7 separate regions of the Homo sapiens genome follow, and regions 1, 3, 4, 5, 6 and 7 are each linked to region 2. The links are contacts of gene promoters, found by promoter capture Hi-C in blood cells and fetal thymus (Javierre and others, 2016). All regions are on one chromosome and are shown on one strand. The core of a region is centred on a gene start or on the middle of the fragment in contact, and the rest is flanking DNA. Distances in the headings are between cores, read along the strand shown. Region 1 overlaps ZNF808 (zinc finger protein 808). Region 2 holds the start of ZNF160 (zinc finger protein 160). Region 3 overlaps ZNF616 (zinc finger protein 616). Region 4 overlaps ZNF766 (zinc finger protein 766). Region 5 holds the start of ZNF480 (zinc finger protein 480). Region 6 overlaps ZNF836 (zinc finger protein 836). Region 7 holds the start of ZNF528 (zinc finger protein 528).

Region 1 (3,203 bases), core at 401-2,900, 570 kb before region 2:
AGTTTATAAATTTTCCCAGTACACATTCTATGTTTTATATTTTACACACAGTAACTAGATAACTAAGGGCAATGAATATATATAAAATTGCTGTATTGCCTGGTGTTATGTAACTGTACTTGTGACATTGTAATTGCACCCTCTGACACTGTTAGTCAGTTCTTATTCCTTTTAATGCTGTGTATTTACTTGAACTCATACATCAGAAGGTAGTGATCTTAACATGTATTTCAGTCTTATAGTGTGTGCTGGTGGTAAGTAGAAGTTGTGGCTTTTTTCTTGAGAGAGAATTGTTTAGAATTCTGCAGGCTGTATAAATGTACTTATTATTTGCTTGCTGGTTTTATCATGGGTTAGAATAGTTTACTGATTAATATTTAAGATTTCACATATGGCTTTTCAGTATATGATATGTAATGGAACTGACACACTGCACTTGTTAATTTCAATAAGTGCCTGTTCTGCGTGGATTTAGGTAATTTTATGACAGGTATTCAGAAAAAGGTTGTATTAACATTTTTTTTTTTTTGAGATGGAATCTCGCTCTGTCACTCAGGCTGGAGTGCAGTGGCACAATCTTGGCTCATTGCAATCTCTGCCTCCCAGGTTCAAGTGATTCTTGTGCCTCTGCCTCCTGAGTAGCTGGGACTACAGGTGACCGCCACCACGCCTGGCTGATTTTTGGAATCTTTTCTTATCTTCTCTGTGCTACGATTATTTGATAATACAGAATTTCAATTGATTTTGGTTACCCTTACATAAGCTTCTGGTGGATTATTTACCAATATAATATATTGTGTGGTCTTTTAGGATTTATTTGTGTACAGTAGATATTGTGTAAATATGAAGGATCTATACTTTTCATTGATGTGACAGTGATATGTTTTTTGCAAACTGTGATACATTTTAGGGTCACAGTGGAAAAATACTCCTTACTTTAGGCTTACACATGTTTGTGCCCTGTCAGCGTTTTGTCATATTGGAAATAGGCTTCCATAGAAATGATTTGAAGTACACGTAAAGTATTTATTAAGTATTTATTAAAGAATCTTACTCCTTTTGTGTTCCTAAACTTTGAAGATCATGTTTGGGAAGTTCAAAATAAGTATTGTTTTTTGTGTCATATTTACACATTTCAGTATGTTTTACCTTCTGGACTTAATTGGAAACGTATTGGTGTTTATATTTTGTAGATATCTCTTCCAAATGCTTGATGAAAAAGGTGGAAGGGTCACTTGACCCAGGGAGTTGAAGGCTGCAGTGAGCCCTGTTTTTGCCACCACACTCCAGCCTGGGTGAGTGAGCTACACCCTATCTCAAACAAACAAGCCAATAAATGAGAGGTATAATTCCTCCTTTGAAATTAAAGAAGGAGATTTTCTTTCCTTTCATCTCTTTTCTTAGGACATTTATTAGAAAATTTGCAAGTGCATTTTCTGTTTTCTGAGGTAGTATGTTTTCTTTCTTTTCTTTTGTTTAATTTTCTTTTATTTCCTTTTCTGTTGTTTTCTTTTCTTTCCTTTCCAACGGAGACACAGTTTCGCTCTTGTTGCCCAGGCTGGAGTTAAATGGTGCGATCTCGGCTCACTGCAATTTCCATCTCCCAGGTACATGAGATTCTACTGCTTCAACTTCCAGAGTAGCTGGGACTACAGGCACCCGCTATAATGCCTGGCTAATTTTTATAGTTTTGTAGAGACGGGGTTTCACCATGTTGGCCAGGCTGGTCTTGAACTTCTGATATCAGATGATTCTCCAGCCTTGGCCTTCCAAAGTACTGGGATTACAGGTGTGAGCCACTGCGCCCGGCCCAGGGATGTATTTCTGAAGAACTTGGGAGCTCCTTGAAAGGCAAACAACAGCCACGCGCAGTGGCTCACGCCTGTAATCCCAGCACTTTGGGAGGCCAAGGCGGGTCAATCCCGAGGTCAGGAGTTCGACACCGCCTGACAAACATGTTGAAACCCTGTCTCTACTAAAAATACGAAGAAATTAGCCGGGCATGGTGGCACATGCCTGTAGTCCCAGCTACTCAGGAAAATTGTTTGAACCTGAGAGGCAGAGGTTGCAGTGAGCCAAGATTGTGCCACTGCACTGTAGCCTGGGTGACAAAGTGAGACTCCGTCTCCAAAAAAAAAAAAAAAAAAAAAAAAGGCAAGCAACAAGATAGATTGTACCTGTGTCTCAGTAGGAAATTAAGTAATTCAAACATCAAATGATTCCAATTTAAAGCTATGGACATTTAAATAATTCTGAGCCTTGAGAGGAATGTGGTCATGCAACCAGAGTCTAGTGGAATGCAGGTGCAACTTCTAGGAGTTTTCCTGGCTGACTGTCATGGCTCAAGCCTGTAATCACAACACTTTGGGAGGCCGAGGCTTCCGGATCACTTGAGGTCAGGATTTCAAAACCAGCTTGGCTAGCGTGGTGAAACCCTGTCTCTACTAAAAATAGAGAGAAATTACAGGCGCCTGCCACCATGCCCAGCTAATTTTTGTATTAGGCTTAGTGTTAGGGTTTCTCCCCCTCCCTCGGGATGAAGCTTGTTAGCTGACAGAGATGGTCACCTCCATTACCAAGTAGAGCCAGGATGAACTATGTGTGACCAAGGGCTTTTCAAGTCCTCTTCCCTGAGGACTGATTACTGTTTATCTTGAAAACATGTCCTTAATGGGTTGTATAGAACACTGAAGTTTCTTTCTCTCTTTTCAACCTCTTAGCTGTTTGCCTCTATTTCCCATCACATTCTGGTCTAAAGCTTATTTATTAATGAAGTAGTTTTTCTTTCTTTCTCTATTATCGTCGTGGAGATGATTTCTCATTTGGGGGAAGACTCTTTGTTTTTCAATTATATTTTCTCACATTTAAAAAGTGAAGTAAAGAATATTTCCTGGGCCAGGCATGGTGACTCACGAGTGTAATCCCAGCACTTTGGGAGGCCGAGGCTGGCGGATCACTTGAAGTCAGGGTTCTAGACCAGCCTGGCCAACATGGTGAAACCCCGTCTCTACCAAAAATATGAAAGTTAGCTGGGCATGGTCGTGTGCGCTTGTAATACCAGCTACTCGAAAGGCTGAGGCAGAAGAATAGCTTCAACCCAGGAGGCAGAGGCTGCAGTGAGCCACGATCTCGCAACTGCACCCCAGCATGGGCCACAGAGAAATACTCTGTCTCAAAAATAAAAGGAAAGAAAAAAGTAAAAA
Region 2 (3,647 bases), core at 252-2,751:
CAAATTGTCATATCCAATCTCAACTCACCTCTCACCTGGCCCCAGGGCGCCCCTCTTTCTTTATAACTATGTGTTCCTCTCCCCCATTTTGTGCCTCTCACTTTCACCTTGTCTCTCCAGCCTTTTTCCCCTTTTATCTTCCCCCTAGGATTCTGACGATGTTGTGCCTCTTTTTTCTTCTGCTGTTTCTCCCTTCTTTGTTTTTTCCCCTTATATCTGTTCTACTCCATTCTTCCAATTTGTTTCACCTCTTGTGGCGTTTTCTTTCCAATCTTTTCATCGTCCCAATCTCCATCTATTTCTGCCTCTTTCTTACCCCATCTCCGCGCCTCCTCTGCTCTCCCTGTTAAATCCCCTCTTCCCTGTTACACCCGCTTATCCCCACTCTCTGGCACTCCCAGATCCCAGGCCTCCCTGTGTTGTGGTGCTCCCTCTGCTCGCCTTGTCACCAGCTGTCCCCTCCAGCTGTCCCAGCACCACGCAGCTCTGTCTGCCCTCGGCCAAATCCTTTCTCCTCTCCCCCACTCTCTGTCTGAGGAGGCTCCTTCTTTGCTGTCCCTCTCCTTATCTTGTTGTCCTGCATCTCGGGACATCGAGCTTTTCTCTACATTTCGCCAATTGCTTTTCTGCCCCTGCTACTTTCTTGACTGCTTCTTTCACTCTGTCGCTGCAAATCTCTCACCCATCCTCCACTTTGCCATCTGTTTATGGGTCTCCCTCATTTTTCTTTTCTCTTTCTTGGTTTTTCCATCTCCTCTCAGTGGCTCTTTGTCTCTCTTTCTCCTGATTCCCTTGGGCCACACATTCACTGGAGGGTTTGTAGTAAGATGTCTGCATGTTGGAGGAGTACATTTTCCAGGGGGTGGAGCTGGGCAGGCAAAAACACCGGGTGTCACAGGACGGGCCCCGGGCACCTCCCCAACGAGGGCTCAAGGGAAGCGGTGACTGCGAAGGGGAGGCCTGGGGAGCAGCAGGGCCCGGCACGAGGAGGAGGGAGGTGGGGGGCGACGGCGCCTTAGGACAGGGGTGGGATGTGCAGGATCCCAGGACCAGGCGGAGGCGCGGCCTCCCCGGGACTGGGTCGGCGGCGCTGCGCTCCAGGGGCCGACGAGAGCGAGGCTGGGAGGCGCCCAGGGCAGGCGGTGAGGACTTTAAGCGATGCGGGGCGGGAGGAGGAGTCAGTAAAGGATTTTAAGCAGGAAAATCCTGCTTAAACGTTTAAAAAACCGGGAAAGGCCGTGTTTACTTGGCCCAAGGCAGAAAGACCGGGGGCAGGGACCAGCCTCAGGGCGACTTTAACCCAAAAGGAAGCGTCTCCGGGCCCACACAGCAAGGCCTATTTACCTGAGGTGGAGGGTGCGGTGCGGAGATTTTAAGTCCGTAGCGACCCCCGGGCATCGGGTGTGCGAATGGGGGACGGCGAGGCGCAGGTTGAGTCTACACAGAGGAACACTCATACGCCATGGTGTGATGCTTGCTCCGCACGATCCACTTCCGGGTCTGTGGGCAACTGCGCGAAGGAAAGCGACCGAGCGGCCCGGGGCGGGGTCCGAGATGGGCGGAACCGGAAAAGGGCGGGGCGTTGAGAGAGCCGGGCTGAAGCAGGGGCCGCCAGGCAGGGACCCCAGGGAAGGAACGGGGAGGAGCCACCGGGGAGGGGTGGGGAGTGACCAAGTGGAGGGACCCGGGGGCGGGCCGGGGAGGAGCCGCCGGGGAAGGGCGGGGAGGAACCGCGGGAAGGGACCGCGGGGGAGGAAGGCGAAGGGACCGCGGGGGAGGGAGGCAGAGGGACCGCCAGGAAGGGACCCGGGGGAGAGGCGGGGCTGGACGGGACACGTTAGGGTCTGCGATTTCGTGTGATGCCCACAGCCCAGCGCCCAGAGCCATCTGTAGTGTCTTGTGGAACGGCGTAGATGTTTCAAACGGTTTCAAGTTAAAAGCACAGTTGTGTAGGTTATTTTGGAAACCAAACTGCTTTCCTCTTAGAATGGAGGCGGTTTATGTTGAAAGCATTTTTTGCTAGCGCGTTTACCCAGTAATGTTATTGACGCTGAAGCAGCCCAGGAGTCTGGGAACATGGGTTGACACGGAGCGGTGATGGCATGCTGGAAAAGTTTCTGCGATTAAAATTAAGTAATTTAAAAGCCCTGAAATTAGCAGTAACTTTTAAAAAATAGATATAAATTGCATTGTCCTTTTTTATACTTACTATTCTATTCCGTGCGAGATGACAACCTCAAACGCCTATACTTTTTTTTTTTTTTTTTGAGCCGGAGTCACGCTCTGTCGTCCAGGCTGGGGTGCAGTGGCATGATCTCTGCTCACTGCAACCTCGGCCTCCCGGGTTCAAGCAATGCTCCTGCCTCAGCCTCCCGAGTAGCTAGGATTACAGGCGCCCGCCACCACGTTCTTTAGCGGAGATGAAGTTTCACCATGTTGCCTAGGCTGGTCTCGAATTCCTGACCTCAAGTGATCCACCCGCCTCAGCCTCCCAAAGTGCTGGGATTACAGGCGTGAGCCACCATACCTGGCCCCAGGAACTACTTTCACCTACTGAATATATATTAAGTCCTTTGCCACAAAAAGATAATATACATAATTTATCTCAGAACAATTAAGATATTTACCACTGTAAATGACAAATTCAGACTTAGAGAAGGAAGATTTTATTCAAAAGGACTATTGCAATAGAGAGAATGTTCCAATCACAAGATCTGAAAATGTCCAAGAGACACAAACTAAAAAGCTTTTTTTTCTTTTTTTCATATATGGAGGAGTAAACAAGGCTAGAAAGCACAAGCACAAGTTATGAGGCTGTGGATGAGCACTTGGCATGACTACAGTTATTCAGGGAAAGTTTGTTATGTTATGTTATGTTATGTTAAAAATGTTACATATTTCTTGGAGAGAGTCTTGCTCTGTCACCCAGGCTGGAGTGCAGTGGCGTCATCTCTGCTCACTGCAACTTTTCATCTACCAGGCTCAGGCAATCCTCCCACCTCAATCTCCCCAGTAGCTGGGACTACAAGCACACGTCACCATGCCTAGTTAATTTTTGTACTTTTTGTAGAGACGGGGTTTCGCCATGTTGCTCAGGCTAGACTCGAACTCCTGAGCTCGAGGGATCCCCCACACCTTGGCCTCCCAAAGTGCTGGGATCACAGGCGTGAGCCACCGTGCCCGGTCTATTTATTTTTTGAGAGAGCATCTTGCTCTGTTGCCCAGGCTAGAGTGCAGTGTCAAGACCATAGCTCACTGCAGCCTTCAACTCTGGAATCAAGTGATCCTCCTACCTCAGTCTCCCAAGTGGCTGGGACTACGGGTTTGCACCGCCACACTCCACTAATTTTTTTACTTTTTGCAAAGGCGGATTCTCACTATGTTGCCCAGGCAAGTCTTGAACTTCTAGCCTCAACTGATCCTCCCGCCCTGATCTCCCAAAGTGTTGGGATTACAAATGTGAGCCTGGCTCATCATGGAATTCAAGACCAGTTTGGGCAACATAGCAAGACTCCCATCTCTACAGAAAATTTTTAAAAATTAGCTGGGCATGGTGGCACACACCTGTAGTCCCAGCTACTCAGGAAGATTGCTTGAGCCCAGGAGTTCGAGGCAGCAGTTAGCTATGATCCTGACACTGCACTCCA
Region 3 (3,491 bases), core at 992-3,491, 970 kb before region 2:
TAATTCCCTAGAGGTAAAAATAGACGTTGCAGTTGTTACACTTTATAATAGGCCAATTTTTTTTCTCTTTTTAACTTATATTTTAAGTTCAGGGGTACACGTGCAGGAGGTGCAGCCTGGTTCACAGGTAAACGGGTCATGGGGGTTTGTTGTATACATTATTTCATCACCTGGGTTTTTGTGTGTGTGTGTGAGACAGAGTCTCGCTCTGTCGCCTAGGCTGGAGTGCAATGGCACGATCTCGGCTCACTGCAACCTCCGCCTCCCGGGTTCAAGCAATTCTCCTGCCTCAGCCTCCTGCTGGGACTACAGGCATGTGCCACCACACCTGGCTCATTTTGTATTTTTAGAAGAGCCGGGGTTTCACTGTATTGGTCAGGCTGGTTGCGAACTCCAGACCTCAGGTGATCCGCCCGCCTCGGCCTCTCAAAGTGCTAGGATTACAGGTGTGAGCCACCACGTCTGGCCCCATCACCCGGGTATTAAGCCTAATGTCTATTAGTTATTTTTCCTGATCCTCTCCCTCCTCCCACCCTCCACCCTGAGGTAGGCCCCAGTGTGTGTTGTTGCCCTCTACGTATCCATGTTTTCTCATCATTTACCTCCCACTTATGAGTGAGAATACGCAGTATTTGGTTTTCTGTCCCTGTGTTAGTTTGCCAAGGATAATCGCCTCCAGCTCCACCCATGTCCTGGCCAAGCGCATTATTTTGTTCATTTTTATGGAAAGGCCGTTGTTTTGTACGAGCCTCCCGCACTACCAGACCAAGCCAGAATGAAGTCTCTCATGCTAAACGCCACATTAGCAAACTGACCCTTGAAATAAGTCACGTTTAGGAAAAAAGAAAATTCCAAAAAAGAAAACAAGAACAGGAGTTAAAAAATGAATTTGTAATAATTTCCCTCCTTATCACGACATCGTAACAAGGTTTGAGGGAAGCACATCTCACATGAGTGTGAAAACCCAATCATCACATTTATTAACTACAAAAGGATCGAATTTGTTGTGATTTTGTCCTTCAACAATAAGAAACTGGTAAATGTGTTTCTCTAAGTTCGGTGAGCCATCCTAGCAAATTAATCAAACCTTTGGCTGGGGTAGTAGGAATGCCAATTTGGAGTCAGTAGGTCAGAAGTATAGGTGACAACCTACTACTTTCGAAATGGTAGCTGAAGTGAGCCGGGGAGGTCTTGTGAGACTGAGCCCTTTACCTGTGGGCAACCTGTGGGAGATGACTCTAACTCCAGGTAGACAGTGCCAGAATTAAATTGAATTCTAAGGCAATCTAGCTGTTGTCTGCTGGAGAATTTTTTAGTGTGTAGGAGAAAACTCCCCAACACTGGCCACAGAAGAGTTCTGTGTTAAGTGTGAGAGTAGAAAGGAAAAAATTTGTTTTTTCCTTTACACCCTGCAATTACTAGGCCTGTCATTCTCCAAAGAGCATTACCCATCCTCTCCCCAAACTGCCTCCCCAGCACCTAGTGGACCCTCTTGCCTGGAGAAAATATCCCTGTTCCACACTGAGTTTAAAGCATTTTGCCTCGTAGCTCCCTGTGATTGTTGCAGCAGACAGAGGTGGGGGGAAAGTAATCACCACTGTCCTGGCAGCGAGAAAGTAACAGCTGTATCTTCCGAGGACAGTCCCAGTTGAAATCTTTGTGCTGCAGGTCGTTGTGATATCATATTCTCTGATTCTTTGAAAAATCTTCCCTAAGCCACCATCCTGCCATAGACCCACCACAGAAAACCCTCCCTAACGAAAGCCTTTTGTCACTAGAGTTTGAGGCCCTAACGTTCCCCTCCTAAACTGAGACAGGTTTACAAACTTCCTTGGGGTCCACACCCTTCCCAGATACTCCATAGTGCTCCCCATATCGTGCTACGAAATCCCACATGCCCCAACAACTCATAAACTCCTGCTGACCTAATACACACAAAGATACCTGAGGACTCAATGACCCAAGACACTCGATTCCATTCATAATGACCCCACCCTTGAACACTGGCACCACCATCTACTAAAACAGATGTCTCCAATGATGCACATACCCCAGTGAGACCCAACATCTTCCAAGGAAACTCTCCATATTGACATTTAGATAGTCCAAAATGCATCTATAACCATCTTAACTTGCCGCCCAAAATACTCCAAAATAACAAATGTAGCCCCCAAAGTGATGGACCCCACAGAAGTCACTATGGAGAGTGCCTGCTGTGCTGCAGCTCTGGGTTCCATGCCCTCAGGACCAATGCACCACCACTCCAGCTGCCCACTCTCCCCGTGGGCTCAGCTTAGGACTTGCTCCTCAATTCAGCTGACCCTTGAACAATACAGCTTTGGATTGTGTGGCTCCTTTCAATAAAATTTTCCTCAATAAACATCCTGAAGAATATTTTGGAGATTTGCAGTATTTTGTTGGCTGTACAACAAGAAGGCCTGGACAATGAGAAGTTGTTCCTTAAGTCAGGAAGGGAATGCCTTTTAAAGTTCTTTGATGTTGGGCCGGGCACAGTGGCTCATGCCTGTAATCCTAGCATGTTGAGAGGCCGAGGCAGGCAGATCTCTTGAGGCCAGGAGTTCAAGATCAGCCTGGCCAACACAGTGAAACCCCATCTCTACTAAAAACACAAAAAATTAGCTGGGCATGGTGGGACATGCCTGTAATCTCAGCTACTTGTGAGGCTGAGGCATGAGACTCGCTAGAACCCAGGAGGCAGATGTTGTAGTGAGCCGAGATGGCGCCCCTGCACTCCAGTCTAGGCAGCAGAGTAAGACTTTGTCTCAAAAAAAAAAAAAGCGGGGGGGGGACAGGGGGCAAAGGACCTGAACATTTTGCAAATAAGACATACAAATGCCAGGCACGGTGGCTCACGCTTGTAATCCTAGCACTTTGGGAAGCCGAGGCGGGCAGATCACCTGTGGTCAGGAGTTCAAGACCAGCCTGACCAACATGGTGAAACCCCCGTCTCTACTAAAATACAAAAATTAGCCAGGCATAGTGGCAGGTGCCTGTAATCTCAGGTGCTTCGGAGGATGAGGTCGCAGTGAGCTGAGATCACGCCATTGCACTCCAGCCTGGGCAACAAGAGTGAGACTCTGTCTCAAAAAAAAACATACAAATGACCAACAGGTATATGAAAAGGTACTCAAGATCGCTAATCATCAGGGATATACAAATCAAAACCACCATAAGCTGTCACCTCATACCTCTTAGGAAGGCTATTATCAAATAGGCAAGAGAGGTGTTAGCAATGATATGGAGAAAAATGAGCCCTTGTACACTGCTGCTGGGAGTGCACATCAGTACAGCCATTATGAAAAACACTATGGATGTTCTTCAAAATATTCAAAATAGAACAACAATGCAATCCAGCAATCTCATTTCTGGGTATAAATCCAAAGGCAATCCAATCAGTATGTTTAAGAGACATCTAGGCCAGGTGTGGTAGTTCATGCCTATAATCCCAGCACTCTGAGAAGCTGAGATGG
Region 4 (3,595 bases), core at 754-3,253, 830 kb before region 2:
CCAGCCCTACTCACAGTCTCAGGACAGTGTGACATCCTTCCTCTGGCATCACCAATATTTACTTCAAGGGATTACTTTGGTTAGTGCACCCACATGGAGGTATTGTCCATGAAAACACACACAGACACACTGGCTGGGTGCGATGGCTCACGCCTGTAATCCCAGCACTTTGGGAGGCCAAGGCGGGTGGATCACTTATGGCCAGGAGTTCCAGACCAGCCTGGCCAGCACGGTGAAACCCCATGTCTACTAAAAATACAAAAATTAGCTGGGTGTGGTGACACGTACCTGTATTCCCAGTTACTCCGGAGGCTGAGGCAGGAGAGTCACTTGAACCCAGGAGGTGGAGGTTGCAGTGAGCCGAGATGGAGGTTGTAGTGAGCTGAGATCATGCCACCGCACTCCAGCCTGGGTGACAAGAGTGAGACTGTCTCAAAAAAAAAAAAAAAAAAAAAGCACAGATGAAGCCTTCATTTTCTTGCCACTCCTCCATGATTAAAATAAAAAATATTCTATTAATTACATCTCTCCCTGTAGTGAGTACCCCTCTTCAACGCTCCATTTGAGAACACAGTACACTAAAATCTTGTTTATATTTCTGTCTTCAGTCTTGCCTCCAGTTCTTGATTTACCCCCTTCCAATTAAGCTTTCACCTCCACCATTCCTTTGATCCTTTTTTCCCAGAGGTACCAGTGATCTCTGTGTTTCGAAGTCCAATTTTGAATTTCCTATCCTCATCTTTTCGTCTTAGCAACATGTTGCACAGCTGATCATTCCCTGTTCTTTTTTCTTAGCTTTGAAGACATCTCTAAGTTTAATTACTTTGTTTCAGATTTTTGTGTTACCAGTTTCCTCTGCTGGTGTCTCCTGAAGCTGTCTTCTCTGAATGTGGGAGTGTCCCATGATTTAGGTCTTTTTCATTTTTGTTTTTGTTTTTAAGACACGGTCTCAGTCTGTCACCCAGACTGGAGTGCAGTGGTGCAATCATAGCTCCCTGCAGCCTTGAACTCCCGGGCTCAGGAGGTCCTCCTGCCTCAGCCTCCCAAGTAGCTGGGACTCTAGGTGCATACCACCACACCTGAGTAATTTTTTTATTTTTTAGTACAGACTGGGTTTCCCTATGTTGAATAGGCTTGGATCTCAAAACTCTTCTCATCTCTTTTCACACACACTACCCTTCCTTATCATCTCATCTCATGGCTTTGAACCCCATCTACCTGTCTCCATGTGCCCTGCAGACCTCTGCCCTGAGGTCTAGAAACCTGTGTTCAGTTGTCCCCTCACTTCTCTGCTGGGACATCTAACAGGCATCTCCACCTTCGTATGTGCCACTTTCTGAACTCCCCCAAATGCATTCCCCTGCAGTCCTGCACATCTCAGATGAGGGTGACCCTGTACTTCCTGGGGCTTAGCTGAACTTGTCATATGTTCAAAATATGTAAGATGTTACATTGTAAATACATTAATATATTTTTTTTTCGAGACGGAGTCTTGCTGTGTCACCAGGCTGGAGTGCAGTGGTGTGATCTTGGCTCACCATAACCTCTGCCTCCCGGGTTCAAGCAATTCTCCTGTCTCAGCCTCCCAAGTAGCTGGGACTACAGGCGTGCACCATCACGCCCAACTAATTGTTTGCATTTTTAGTAGAGATGGGGTTTCATCATGCTGGCCAGGATGGTCTCGATCTCTTGACCTTGTGATCTGCCCGCCTTGGCCTCCCAAAGTGCTGGGATTACAGGCATGAGCCACCATGCCCAGCCTATAAGTACATTAATTTATAACATAAATAATTACATAGTTACTAAAACAGATGAGGAAATTTGTTGTTTCTGAAATTCTTTGGAGGTATGGGAGAGAAATGTTGGTGGCCTCATCCCTGTGTGATCTGCATCCCAGGACCTCTCTGAGCTCATCTCCTCCCTGTGTCCCCCTCGTTCCCTCTGCCGCAGCCACACAGACCTCTTTCCTGGGGCCAGGGTTGCTCCTGCCTCAGGGCTTCCACCTGGGCTGTCCCTCTGCCTGGACATCTCTAGCCTGTCAGCTGCAGGTGCAAACACCTTTTCTTCCCCAGGTCTTTGTTCTGATATTACCTTCTTCATGGAGGGTTCTGTGTTCCTCTCCACCCTACATTTAACACTCCAGCTACACCCTTACCCCTACTGTGGTCCACATTGCCTGCTCTGGATGTTTCTTTCTGCTCTTTTGCTGTCCACTACGTAAATCCTGGTAACAAGACCCAAGGGTAGAGCAGAGCCAGAAGGTGGGGGTGTGCTGGGCTTGCCCCGTCTGAGTGGAGCTCACCCCTGTTTTCACATTGGAGTGCAGATACACATCTTGTGCCCCCAGCCTCTTACCTGAGATTCCCATTCACATACTCAGGTTGGGCCCAGCCTTAATATTTGAAGTTGATTCTACAGTAGTTTCTCCTTATCTGCCAGTGTACTTTTTGAGGTTCCAGTTACTCATGGTCAACCACAGTCCAAGGTATTACGTGGAAAGTTCCAGAAATGAAGAATTCACAAGTTTTCAATTTCTCATCCTTCTGAGCAGGATGATACAATCTCTCACTGTCCCACTCTGTTTTGTCCAGGACTTGAATCATCTCTTTGTCCTGTATGTCCCCCTGTATAGTCATCCCTCGGTATCACGTAGGATTTGCTTCCAAGATCCCCCCAAGACTACCCAAATCAGATGATCTTCAAGACCCTTATATAAAATTGCATAATACAGTCACATGCCACATAAGGACATTTCGGTCAACAGCAGCCCACACCTGTGATGGTGGTTCCATAAGATTACACTGGAGCTGAAAAATTCCCGTTGCCTAGCTACCTCAGAGCAGTCATGACATCATAGTGCAGTGCATTCCTTGTATTTGTGGTGATGCTGGCGGAAACAAACCTAGTGCGTTACCAAACAGCTTTAACCTGGATGTGGAGGAGGATGACATTGAGAATCTCTTAGAGGTGGTTCATGAGGAATGGGTTAATGAGGAGTCATTGGAACTGATACAGGAACATGTAGCTGAAGAAGAGGCAAGAGAATAGGGAACTGGCTGGGCACGGTGGCTCACATCTATAATCCCTGCACTTTGGGAGGCCGAGGCAGGTGGATCACTTGAGGTCAGTAGTGTCAGGAGTGGTGGCACATGCCTGTGGTCCCAGCTACTTGGGAAGCTAAGGTAGGAGAATCACTTGAACCCAGGAGGTGGAGGTTGCAGTGAGCCAAGATCACGCCACTGCACTCCAGCCTGAGCGACAGAGTGAGACTCCATCTCAAAAAAAAAGAATGAGCCAATAGGAAACTGAAGGAGAAAAAGAAAGTACTCTCAAGGCAATTCACAGTTAAAGATATAGCAGAAGCTTTTGCAGACCTTGACAAGCTCCTTAAAAGGTTTGAAAACATAGGCACCAACACCTAAAGATTTTCATTAATAGAAAGGAGCGTCCATGATGCATTATCCGCTCATAAGAACATTTAGGAAGACAAAAGAAACAAAGCAAGCAAACCACCATGGACGTATTTCTGAAAGGAGTGACGCCTCTAGAAGAGGCTCAGGCAGGTCCTTCAGGAGGCGTCTGGGAGAAACCATTG
Region 5 (3,122 bases), core at 92-2,591, 810 kb before region 2:
CTATCTTTTTTTTCAGATGTTTGAGCTATTCCAGGTTTTTTGGGATTTCTGTTGGTTTGTTTTGTTTTTTGCTTTTCTACATAATTGTTTGGATAATCTTGTCAGTATCTACGAAGTGCCTTGATAGTAAATATATTAACCCTGTGTATCAATTTGGGGTAATTTCACATTTTTTTCTATGTTGAGTTTATCAATAAATTGATATTGTATATGTCTCTATCTGGGTGTCTTTGATTTCTTTCATCAGCATTTTGTAGTTTTAAAATCCTGAGAATGTTAAATTAACATATTTTTTGACTTTTTTTTTTTTTTTTTGAGACAGAGTCTTGTTCTGTTGCCTGGTCTGGAGTGCAGTGGCACAATCTCAGCTCACTGCAACCTCCGCCTCCCAGGTTCAAGCGATTCTCCTGCCTCAGCTTCCTGAGTAGCTGGGATTACACGCGTATGCCACCATGCCCAGCTAATTTTTGTATTTTTAGTAGAGATGGGGTTTTACCGTGTTGGCCAGGCTGGTCTCGAACTCCTGACCTCAAATGATCCACCTGCCTTGACCTCCCAAAGTGCTGGGATTACAGGTGTGAGCCACCTCGCCCGGTTAATGCTTTTTTAAAACCAACAATTGGTGACCTAAATTCTCACTGGCCTTAGCCCTCCATGCCCCTGGTGCTGTCACTAGAAAACTCTCTGGAGCTGAGCACAGGGTTACCTCTGTCCCTCCCGAAAGAACAGGGAATAGAAAAGGAGAGGATTTCTATTCTGCTTTGTGGGCCGTCAGCATGAAATTGCACATTCTGCCCAGGCAGGGCTTTGCAGTTCATGTATTAACTTGCGTCGCTTTCACAGACAATCCCAGGGCTTAATTAAATTGCTAAATTTAGTTTTTTATGTATTTATTTGAGAGACTGAGTCTCTGTCGCCCAAGCTGGAGTGCAGTGGCCGTCATAACTCAGTGTAAACTCGAACTCCTGGGCTCAAGCGATCCTCCCGCCTCAGTCTTCGGGGTAGCCGGGACTACAGGTGCCCGACCGCACGGTCGGCTTAAGATTAACTTTAATAGCAGGAATTTTCCTGGATCTAATCATTAGCCGACTTTGCTCAGTCCCGGCAAGAGTACAGTTCCGAGACAGCTGAGTTGCTCCAGTCTCCTTGACAGGTCTCCCCGGCAAAACCCGGAAAACAGAGGCACTGGAAGCGAGGCGGAGGGAAGCGCAAGCCCCACTCCGCCCCGCCCCCGCCCCCGCCCCCGCCCCCGCCCCCGCCCCCGCCCCCGCCCCCGCCCCCGCCCCCGCCCCCGCCCCCGCCCCCGCCCCCGCCCCGCTCGGACCCCTCCGCTGCGCGCGCAGTTTCCCACAAACCCGGAAGCGGATCGCGTGGAGTGAAGGTCACGCCGCGGCGCGTGAGTTTCCCTTTGTGTAAATTAATCTGCGCTTCCCAACTCCCCCGCGCTTCTGTACCCGGGATCTGAGGGGCCACACAGACCTTGAAATCCTCGCACCGCTCCCTCTACCCCGACCAAATTCAGGCGTCTCCGTGAGAGTCAGGCGGTCGCTTCCCTGTGTGTTTAAATCGCTCGGCGGCGGGTCCTGTCCCCCGTCCTTCTGCCACAGGGCCATGTAGTCACCTCCTGTCGCGGAGTTTTCCTGTTTCAAGTCCTTCAGTGATGCTTACATCCGCCCCGCACAGCGTAAAGTCCTCCCCCGCTAGGCGGATTCCGGTCTATGCGGTCCCCCAAGCCTCGCCTTTGTTGGCCCTGGAGCACAGCGCTCCAATCTCAATCCAGGAGAAGCCGCGTCTTCTGCCCAGTGCTGGGATTCTGCAGACGCCACCCATCTCTTGATCCAGACCCTACCTTTACCCTCCTTGATACGGGGCCCCGCTACTCCCCAGGCCTCCTCTTCCCAGACACCGCTTCTCCTAACCCTGCGTGTGGGGAGGTGACTTACTCTGTCTCTTGACATCCAGTGTTCTTGCGGGCCAAATAACACCCCACTGAAAAGGTGTTCTGCTTGTGGACATCGGATCCCAATTCCTTCCATGTGAATGTGTGCAGAAAGAGAGACGGAGAGCGAGGGAGAAGAAAGAGAAAAATTTTGAAGGAGAAAAGAAGATTGAGGGAGAGCCGTAAGCAGATGGCAAAGTAGAGAGTGGATGGAGGATTTGCAGAGACAGCGAATGAAGCCGAGAAAGTAGCAGGGGGAAAAAAGCAACTGGAGAAATGCAGAGAAAAGTTCCATCTCCGGAGAGATGAAGGACAGCAAGATAGTGAGAGGGGCAGCAAAGTGGGAAGTTCCTCAGTTTGAGAGTGGGGGAGAGGGGGAGGGATTTGGAGCCAGGGCAGACAGAGCAGCGTGGTGCTGGGACAGCAAGAGGAGTCAGCTGGTGACAACGAGAGCAGAGGGAGAACCACAGCAGGTGGAGGCCTGGGATCTCAGGGTGCCAGAGAGTGGGGACAAGGGGGTGTAACAGAAAAGAAGGGATTTAACAGAGAGAGCAGAGGGGGAGTAGAGTCAGGGGAAGAGGCAAGACCGGGCACAGTGGCTCACGCCTGTAATCCCAGCACTTTGGGAGGCCAAGGTGGGTGGATCACGTGAGGTCAGGAGTTTGAGACCAGCGTGGGCAACATGGTGAAACCCCATCTCTACTAAAAATGCAAAAATTAGCCGGGCGTCAGCGCGCGCGTGTAATCCCAGCTACTCAGGAGGCTGAGGCAGGAGAATTGCTTGAACCCGGGAGGCGGAGGTTGCAGTGAGCTGAGATTGCGCCATTGCACTCCAGGCTGGGCGACAAGAGCAAAACTCCGTCTCAGGGAAAAAAAAAAAAAAGAGACAAATAGGTGGAGAATGGGATGATCAAAGATTGAGCAGAAAGTTTGGAAGAGGGGTGAAACAAGTTGCCAGAATGGAGCAGAACAGGTGGAAGAGAAGGAATAGAAGGAAGAAGGGGAGAAACATCAGGAGAAGAGAGGGGCTCAAAATGAGCAGAATCTTAGGGGAAAAATAAAGGGGGAAAAAAGCTAGAGAAAGAAGGTGAGAATGAGAGATACGTACAGAATGAGGGAGGGAAACACAGTACCCAGAAAAGAGGGAACCCTGGGTGCAGATGAACGGTGAGTTGATTGGATA
Region 6 (3,618 bases), core at 82-2,581, 940 kb before region 2:
CATTTCCTGCTTTGCTAGATCTGGCAAGATTCTCCACTACCCTGAGCTGCAAAGCAGCCCTCTCCCACCAACATCACACGAGATTTCTCACTCATTTGAACAAAACCTACTACTATGTTTCTTTTAGATGTTGAAGATCTGGGGAAAATGATAACTCTTTGCATTTCCATTTTCCATTTCATTAATTTGTAGAAATCAAAATAAAATAATCTTCATTCTTTGCTCAATTTTTTTTTACTGCATTCTAGCAGCCATTTCATATTCTGTAGTTAAATTTTCAGAATATATATGCCTTAATGTCCTTTTTTTATTTTTATTTTTATTTTTGGAGACAGAGTCTAGCTCTGTCACCCAGGCTGGAGTGCAATGGTGCAATCTCAGCTCACTGCAACCTCTGCCTCCTGGGTTCAAGGGATTCTCCTACCTCAGCCTCCCGAGTAGCTGGAACTACAGGCATGCGCCACCACGCCAGGCTAATTTTTGTATTTTTAGTAGAGGTGGGGTTTCACTATGTTGGCCAGGCTGGTCTCTAACTCCTGACCTGGTGATCCGCCTGCCTCAGCCTTCAAAAGTGCTGGGATTGCAGGCATGAGCCACTGCGCCTGGCCAATGTCCTTTTTTAAGATTATAAATTTTTTTTTAGCATAAAACTGAAATGTTTCCTTGATGCCCCATGTTTTATGTTTGCTTATAAATTTTATGGTATATATAAGGTATACAACATGATATTACAGTATAGATAGTAAAAAAAGTCACTATGGTTTAACAAATTAACATATCCATCATCTCAGAGGTACCTTTTTTTTTGACAGGAACAGCTAAAATCTAACATAGCATGAATTTCATATATAATAAAATATTATTTTCCTATCATCTTCATGTTGTACCAACTTCTTTTTTTTTTTTTTTTGAGACGGAGTCTCGCTCTGTCGCCCAGGCTGGAGTGCAGTGGCACGATCTCGGCTCACTGCAAGCTCCACCTCCTGGGTTCATGCCATTCTCCTGCTTCAGCCTCCCAAGTAGCTGGGACTACAGGCCCCCGCCACCACGCCCAGCTAATTTTTTTTTTTTTATTTTTTAGTAGAGACGGGGTTTCACCTTGTTAGCCAGGATGGTCTCGATCTCCTGACCTCGTGATCCGCCCGCCTCGGCCTCCCAAAGTGCTGGGATTACAGGCGTGAGCCACCGCGCCCGGCCTGTACCAACTTCTTAATGCCTCAACTGCATCTCTGCTTGGACTTTTACTGCAAACAAATATATTATGTGATGTTTAAAATAAAAGAAATATGATGTTCAGTAATAACTGGTGGAATGAGAGAATTTGGCTCCATCTTCTCTAATAACAAAGGAGTTCTGCTCCTACATCTGAGCAAAATTATAACCTTTTTACATAAAACAACTGCGAAGAGTCCCAGCATGAACACCGCAGTCTCTGTGGGACGGATACAGTGACAATGGCTAAAAGAATCTGACATTCAGGTTGATTTTATATTTTAAAATCAATGATGGGCCAGGCACGGTGGGTCACACCTGTAATCCCTGCATTTTGGGAGGCCGAGGCGGGAGGATCACCTGAGGTTGGGAGTTCTAGACCAGCCTGACCAACATGGTGAAACCCCATCTCTACTAAAAATACAAAAATCAGCCGGGCGTGGTGGCGCATGCCTGTAATCCCAGCTACTCAGGAGGCTGAGACATGAGAATCACTTGAACCAGGGAGGTGGAGGTTGCAGTGAGCCGAGATCACACCATTGCCCTCCAGCCTGGGCAACAAGAACGAAACTCCGTCTCAAAAAAAAAAAAAAAAAAAAAAAAATCAATGATAAAATAAACACCCTCTATCACTGACGTGTGTATCTAATTGTCCATTCCATTCCCAGTCATTAAGATTTTGAAGTTAGAAACAGTGATTAATTCATACACCTTCAAATGTAGTATAAAATTAGGCAGAAAAGATCTCCCCTCATAGGTCTCTTTTCCAGAATTTATGAGGTATCGTGCACATTAATATGTGACTTCCGTGTGCAGCTTCTCTACTTCTGGTCTACAGAGAGCTGACTGCATCCTGATTTTGCCTCTAAACAATCTCTGCTGCCAACAGCTCTGACATTGTGGGGCCCATACCCCGTCTCCATCCGTGTCTGGGTGTGAGTCTCTCCCAGGACCATGCCCAGTGGAGCCTCTTCCCAAGTTAATGTCACTGGGTCGCAGTGAGATAGAAGCTAAATGAGATGAGAGAAACTGAGGGAAGGCATGGGTGAATGGCAGCAAACGTGTCAGGCAGGATGCTTCAGACTCAGAGGAGATTCGCAACTCCAATGTGTCGCATTTCAAAAAGGAAGGAGACAGAATGATCCACTAAGAATATCATTTTACCTGTGTAAGAGCCATCCCTGACTCCTTTTCTTTCCTCTTCTTCCTCTTCTGGGCTTCTCTCTCAGTCAATATAATTAATTCTTTACAAGTCAAATCTGAAAGTGAAAAATCTGTTGTTTAATGCTTGGAAACAACACATTCCTTTCTGCGCTACAACCATGCCCACAGGGAAGACCTCAGCATGTGGAGAGACAGCCCACTGCACCAGGGGGATGCAAGGATAATAAATTCCTAAACAAAGACCAAGTGTCCTGGCATGGTGGCTCACGCCTGTAATCCCAGCACCTTAGGAGGCAGAGGCGGGCAGATCAACTGAAGTCAGGAGTTTGAGAGCATCCTGGCCAACACAGTGAAACCCTGTCTCTACTAAAAATACAAAAATTAGCCGGGTGTGGTGGCATGCACCTGTAGTCCCAGCTACTCAGGAGGCTGAGGCAGGAGAATTGCTTGAACCTGGGAGGCAGAGGTTGCAGTGAGCCGAGATCATGCCACTGTGCTCCAGCCTGGGTGACACAGCAAGACTCCATCTCAAATAAATAAATCAATCAATAAAAATAAAAAAGAAAATGTATGATGTGTCTGTATACATATCTTTATGTGTACGTGTATTTATATAGATATATATAGTATGCGTACATATGTATAATGGACTTATTCAACCATCAAAAAGAAGAAAATCCTGCTATTTGCAACAACATGGATGAACCATGCAATCTCCGCCTCCCAGGTTCAAGCGATTCTCCTGCTATTTGCAACAACATGGATGAACCTGGAAGACATTACGCTAGGTGAAATAAGACAGACACTAAAAGACAATTACTGTATGACCTCACAAGCAGAATTTTAAAGTATCCAATTCATAGGAACAGGGTAGAACAGTTGTTGCCAGGGGCTGGTGGTGGGGAGAATGGAAAAATGTTGGCCAAAGCGTATAAACTTTCAGTTATAAAATGAAGAAGTTCAGGGGAATCTAACGTACACCGTGGTGTCTATACTGTATTGGACACTTTAACAGTTTGGAAAGTTTTTGAAAAATTTAATGAGTTATAGGGTGAAAGTTTAAAAAAATGACAATACTTAACATTTAGAAATGAATGACGTCAGCTGATTATAGGATGCCACCAAATCTTATTTCAGAAGTCAGTAATTATTTATAGAAAGGCAGATATTGAATAAACTAACACTTATCTCAAGCTTCCAAAATAACGATGAATTAAGTGGAACTACAAAGAAAAAAGTAGG
Region 7 (3,286 bases), core at 212-2,711, 710 kb before region 2:
AACATCATTGAGGTACAGCCAGTTGCATTTCACTAGGCTCAAGAGGATTGCTGCCTCAAGCAGGATAACCAGGCCTGCCTGGAGCAGTGCCGTAGTCCAGGATCCCAGTGACCTAGGTGAGAAGTTGGTACTCAGATCAAAGAAAAGTTCTTCAGGTGACCCCACTGTCTGCAGCCAATGGGCCTGCTTGTGGGCCTTATGTATTTGTGTTTCAAAAATAACCTGAGGGCTTGATGTGGGGGTCCTTATCTCCCATGCAAGGTGATTCATGCCTATAATCCGAGCACTTTGGTAGGAGCAGATGGGAAGACTGCTTGAGGCTAGAAGCTGGAGACCAGCCTGGGCAACAAAACCAGACTACATCTCTATTAAAAACAAAGCAACAAACAGTAGAAAATTAGCACAGTGGAGAGGCACAGGCCTTTACTCACAGCTACTCGGCAGGCTGAGACAGGGGGTCACCTGCCCAGGACCCCAGGAAGTCAAGGTTGCAGTGAGCTATGATTGCGCCACTGCATTTCAGCCTCGGTGGCAGAGACCCTGTCTTAAAATTTTAAAAAGTATTAAAAAACTAAGTTGGACCGGGCGTGGTGGCTACTCTGGAGGCTGGGGCAAGAGAATCACTTGAACCCAGGAGGCGGAGGTTACAGTGAGCTGAGTGCCTGCCACTGTACTCCCGCCTGGGGGACAGAGGGAGACGCTGTCTCAAAACAACAACAACAACAAAAAACTACGTCGTTTATGGCTATTTTTATAAGTTACTGGCTTTTTTTTTTTAAAGAATCGGTGACTTATCTTCACACTGGCCTTAGTCCTCCATGCCCAACACGATGTCCCTAGGAAAGTCTCTGGAATTGAGCACAGGGTTGACCTTCACCGTCTAGAGTGAATGGGGAAGATAAATGAAAAGTATTTATCTTCTATGGGCACTGGCATGAAATAGAACATTCTACCCTGGCAGGGTTTTGCATTTCACATTTTAGCTTGCATCATCCCCTTCACAGACAATTCCAAAGTGTGTTAATTCAATTCCTAAAGCTTCCCTTCCCTTCCTCCCTTCCCTTCCCTCCTTACTTTTCTTTCTTGTCCATTTATTTTCGGTTTTTTTCTCTTTCTTTCTTGGTTTTCTTTCTCTTTTTCAACTTCTCTTTCTTTTCTCTTTCTCTTTACTCTCTCTCTTCTCTCTCTTTCTGCTTCCAGGGTAGGTGGGACTTGAAATTCATTTTAATAGAAGGAATTTTCGTGGATATAATCTACAACCGATTTTGCTCTGCGCAGGTAAGATCCGTTTTCAGACCAAAACCCTGAAAACAAGCGCAGCCAGTCAAGCGAACGGAAGCGCAGGCCCGGCCCAGGCTTTGTCCCGGCCCGCCCTGGTCCCAGCCAGTCCGGCCTCTAGGATGCGCGCGCAATTTCGTGCAAACCCGGAAGCGGACCGCGGGGGGCGAACGCCTAGAGCGCAGTTTCCGGTAGACCCGGAAGCCGATTGCAGGGAGAAACTGTTTTCGCAGCAGTGCGTGAGTTTCCCTTTGTCTATGTTAAGTCTAGGCTAGCCAGTTCTTCTCTGCTTCTATACCCGGGAGCTGAGGGGCATGCAGACCTTGAAATCCCGGCACCGCTCCCTCCACCCCGAGTAAATTCAGACATCCTTTGAGAGTCTGGGAGTCGCTTTCTGCGTGTTAAAATCGCTTGGAGGCTGGTCGTGTGCCCGGTCTTTTTGTCATTTACCCACGTAGACACCTCCTATCGTGGGGTTTACCTGCTTCAAATCCTTTAGTAACCCCTACACACGCCCCGCACCACGTAAAATCCTCACTCTCCGTTCCCCTAGCCTCGCCCTTCTTTGCCCCTAGAGCTCAGCGCCCCAACAGGGCACGAGAGGCCTCGTCCTCTGCCCAGACCTGGTTTCTGCAGACTCCACCCCTCTCCTGACCCACTCCTGCCTTTTTGCTCCTTAATCTGGACCCTCTGTTCCCCAGGCCTCCCTTTTCCAGCCACCGGTTCTCCTGACCCCGAGTGTGGGGGGTGACTTCAGTCTCCTGACATCCAGTGTTCTCTCGAGCCAGTTTCCAGCCCACAGAAAATGAGCTCTTCCGGAAGTGGGCATCTTATTCCAATCCCCTCCCTGTGAATGTGTGGAGAAAAAGAGATGGGAACGAGGCAGAGGAAATAGAGAAATTTTGAAAGAGAAATGAAGAATGAGAGACCCATTAACAGAAGGCAAAGTAGAAGGTGAGTGAGGGGTTTGCAGAGGCACAGTGAAAGAAGGTGCCGAGAAAATAGCAGGGGAGAAAAGTAACTGTAAAAATATAGACAAACCTGGGTCTGTAGAAAGACGAAATTCAACAAGATAGGGAAGGCTTCTCAGACAGAGGGGGGAGAGGAGGAGGGATTTGGAGCCAGGTCAGACAGAGCAGCGTGGTGCTGGGACAGCCAGAGGGGGCAGCTGGTCACAAGGAGAACAGGGAGAACCACAGCAGGGGGAGGCCTGGGATCTAAGGGTGCCAGAGAGTGGGGACAGGGGTGTGTAATATCGAAGATGGAATTTAACAGGGAGACCCCAAGGGGAGCTGAGATGTGGGAGGAAAGAGGCAGAAATATATGGAGATTAGGGACAATGAAAGATTGGGCAGAAAGAGGAATAAGAGGTGAAACAAGTTGTAAAAATGGATCAGAACAGGTGGGAGAGAAGGAATAGAGGGAAGAATGGGACAAAGAGAAGAGGAGGGACTCAAAATGAACAGAATCCTAGGGGAAAATAGAGAAAAAAAGAGCTAGGAAAAAAGATGAGAATGAGAGATATGTACAGAATGAGGCAGGGAAACAGTAGTGAGGAAAGAGGGGGACCCTGGTTACAGATGAGTGGTGAGTTGATTGGAAATTATGATTGAATTGTGACATATTAATTTTTCTATAATATAAAATTTGTTTAGAACACATGAGGCTAGGAGCTGTGGCTCACACGTGTAATCCCAGTACTTTGGGAAGCTGAGGTGAGCGGATCACTTGAGGTCAGGAGTTGAGACCAGCCTGGCCAACATGTGAAACCCATCTCTAGTAAAAATACAAAAATTAGCTGGGCCTGATGGCCTGCGCCTGTAATCCCAGCTACTCTGGAGGCTGAGGCAGGAGAATCGCTTAATCCTGGGAGGCAGAGGTTGCAGTGAGCCGAGATCGTGTCACTGCACTCCAGGTTAGGTGACAGAGCAAGACTCCATCTCAAAAAACAAAAAACAAAAAACCACACATGAAGATGAGAATTGGAACACTATTTATAAGGCACTCT

Evidence for each region. The method cuts DNA at HindIII sites, captures the fragments that hold promoters and counts their contacts. A CHiCAGO score of 5 or more calls a contact.
Region 1: a contact is called between a fragment that was not itself captured here and the fragment with the promoter of ZNF160 in region 2, in 1 of 17 cell types (fetal thymus). The highest score is 7.7, in fetal thymus.
Region 3: a contact is called between a fragment that was not itself captured here and the fragment with the promoter of ZNF160 in region 2, in 1 of 17 cell types (total CD8 T cells). The highest score is 8.2, in total CD8 T cells.
Region 4: a fragment that was not itself captured here is called in contact with the fragment with the promoter of ZNF160 in region 2 in 1 of 17 cell types (neutrophils); the score reaches 5.7 in neutrophils.
Region 5: the fragment with the promoter of ZNF480 here is called in contact with the fragment with the promoter of ZNF160 in region 2 in 11 of 17 cell types (neutrophils, non-activated CD4 T cells, naive CD8 T cells and 8 more); the score reaches 15.4 in neutrophils.
Region 6: a contact is called between a fragment that was not itself captured here and the fragment with the promoter of ZNF160 in region 2, in 1 of 17 cell types (non-activated CD4 T cells). The highest score is 5.3, in non-activated CD4 T cells.
Region 7: a contact is called between the fragment with the promoter of ZNF528 here and the fragment with the promoter of ZNF160 in region 2, in 12 of 17 cell types (naive CD8 T cells, activated CD4 T cells, non-activated CD4 T cells and 9 more). The highest score is 12.4, in naive CD8 T cells.

What each region holds. Positions count from the first base shown.
Region 1 is chr19:52,531,715-52,534,917 of GRCh38, forward strand. ZNF808 (zinc finger protein 808) reads left to right here. Exons shown (of 5, transcript NM_001039886.4): 2 at 1,194-1,295. Among named protein-coding and RNA genes, the nearest start is that of ZNF808, 5.6 kb to the left of the region's middle. The HindIII fragment of the contact is 1,779 bases long and covers 762-2,540 here.
Region 2 is chr19:53,101,921-53,105,567 of GRCh38, forward strand. It overlaps ZNF160 (zinc finger protein 160), which reads right to left and starts at 1,502. Exons shown (of 6, transcript NM_001322131.2): 1 at 1,345-1,502. RefSeq lists a silencer at 1,545-1,954. The HindIII fragment of the contact is 3,069 bases long and covers 1-2,744 here.
Region 3 is chr19:52,133,345-52,136,835 of GRCh38, forward strand. The region is part of intron 1 of ZNF616 (zinc finger protein 616); the gene reads right to left. It also overlaps the pseudogene LOC124904799. Among named protein-coding and RNA genes, the nearest start is that of ZNF616, 4.8 kb to the right of the region's middle. The HindIII fragment of the contact is 4,618 bases long and covers 1-3,491 here.
Region 4 is chr19:52,271,547-52,275,141 of GRCh38, forward strand. All of the region lies in intron 1 of ZNF766 (zinc finger protein 766), which reads left to right. It overlaps LOC124904763 (a long non-coding RNA gene), which reads right to left. Exons shown (of 4, transcript XR_007067331.1): 3 at 289-427. Among named protein-coding and RNA genes, the nearest start is that of ZNF766, 3.8 kb to the left of the region's middle. The HindIII fragment of the contact is 2,716 bases long and covers 646-3,361 here.
Region 5 is chr19:52,295,828-52,298,949 of GRCh38, forward strand. ZNF480 (zinc finger protein 480) reads left to right here and starts at 1,342. Exons shown (of 5, transcript NM_144684.4): 1 at 1,342-1,396. ZNF766 (zinc finger protein 766) reads left to right here. Exons shown (of 4, transcript NM_001010851.3): 4 at 1-219. RefSeq lists enhancers at 1,404-1,453, 1,524-1,573. The HindIII fragment of the contact is 10,959 bases long and covers 1-3,122 here.
Region 6 is chr19:52,165,682-52,169,299 of GRCh38, forward strand. It overlaps ZNF836 (zinc finger protein 836), which reads right to left. Exons shown (of 5, transcript NM_001102657.3): 3 at 2,377-2,471. The coding sequence starts at 2,391. Among named protein-coding and RNA genes, the nearest start is that of ZNF836, 4.1 kb to the right of the region's middle. The HindIII fragment of the contact is 4,474 bases long and covers 1-3,568 here.
Region 7 is chr19:52,396,388-52,399,673 of GRCh38, forward strand. It overlaps ZNF528 (zinc finger protein 528), which reads left to right and starts at 1,462. Exons shown (of 7, transcript NM_032423.3): 1 at 1,462-1,517; 2 at 1,980-2,232. ZNF528-AS1 (ZNF528 antisense RNA 1) reads right to left here and starts at 1,370. Exons shown (of 7, transcript NR_125345.1): 1 at 1,075-1,370; 2 at 808-880; 3 at 223-365; 4 at 1-112. It also overlaps a transcript of ZNF880 not described here. RefSeq lists an enhancer at 774-1,973. The HindIII fragment of the contact is 5,447 bases long and covers 1,037-3,286 here.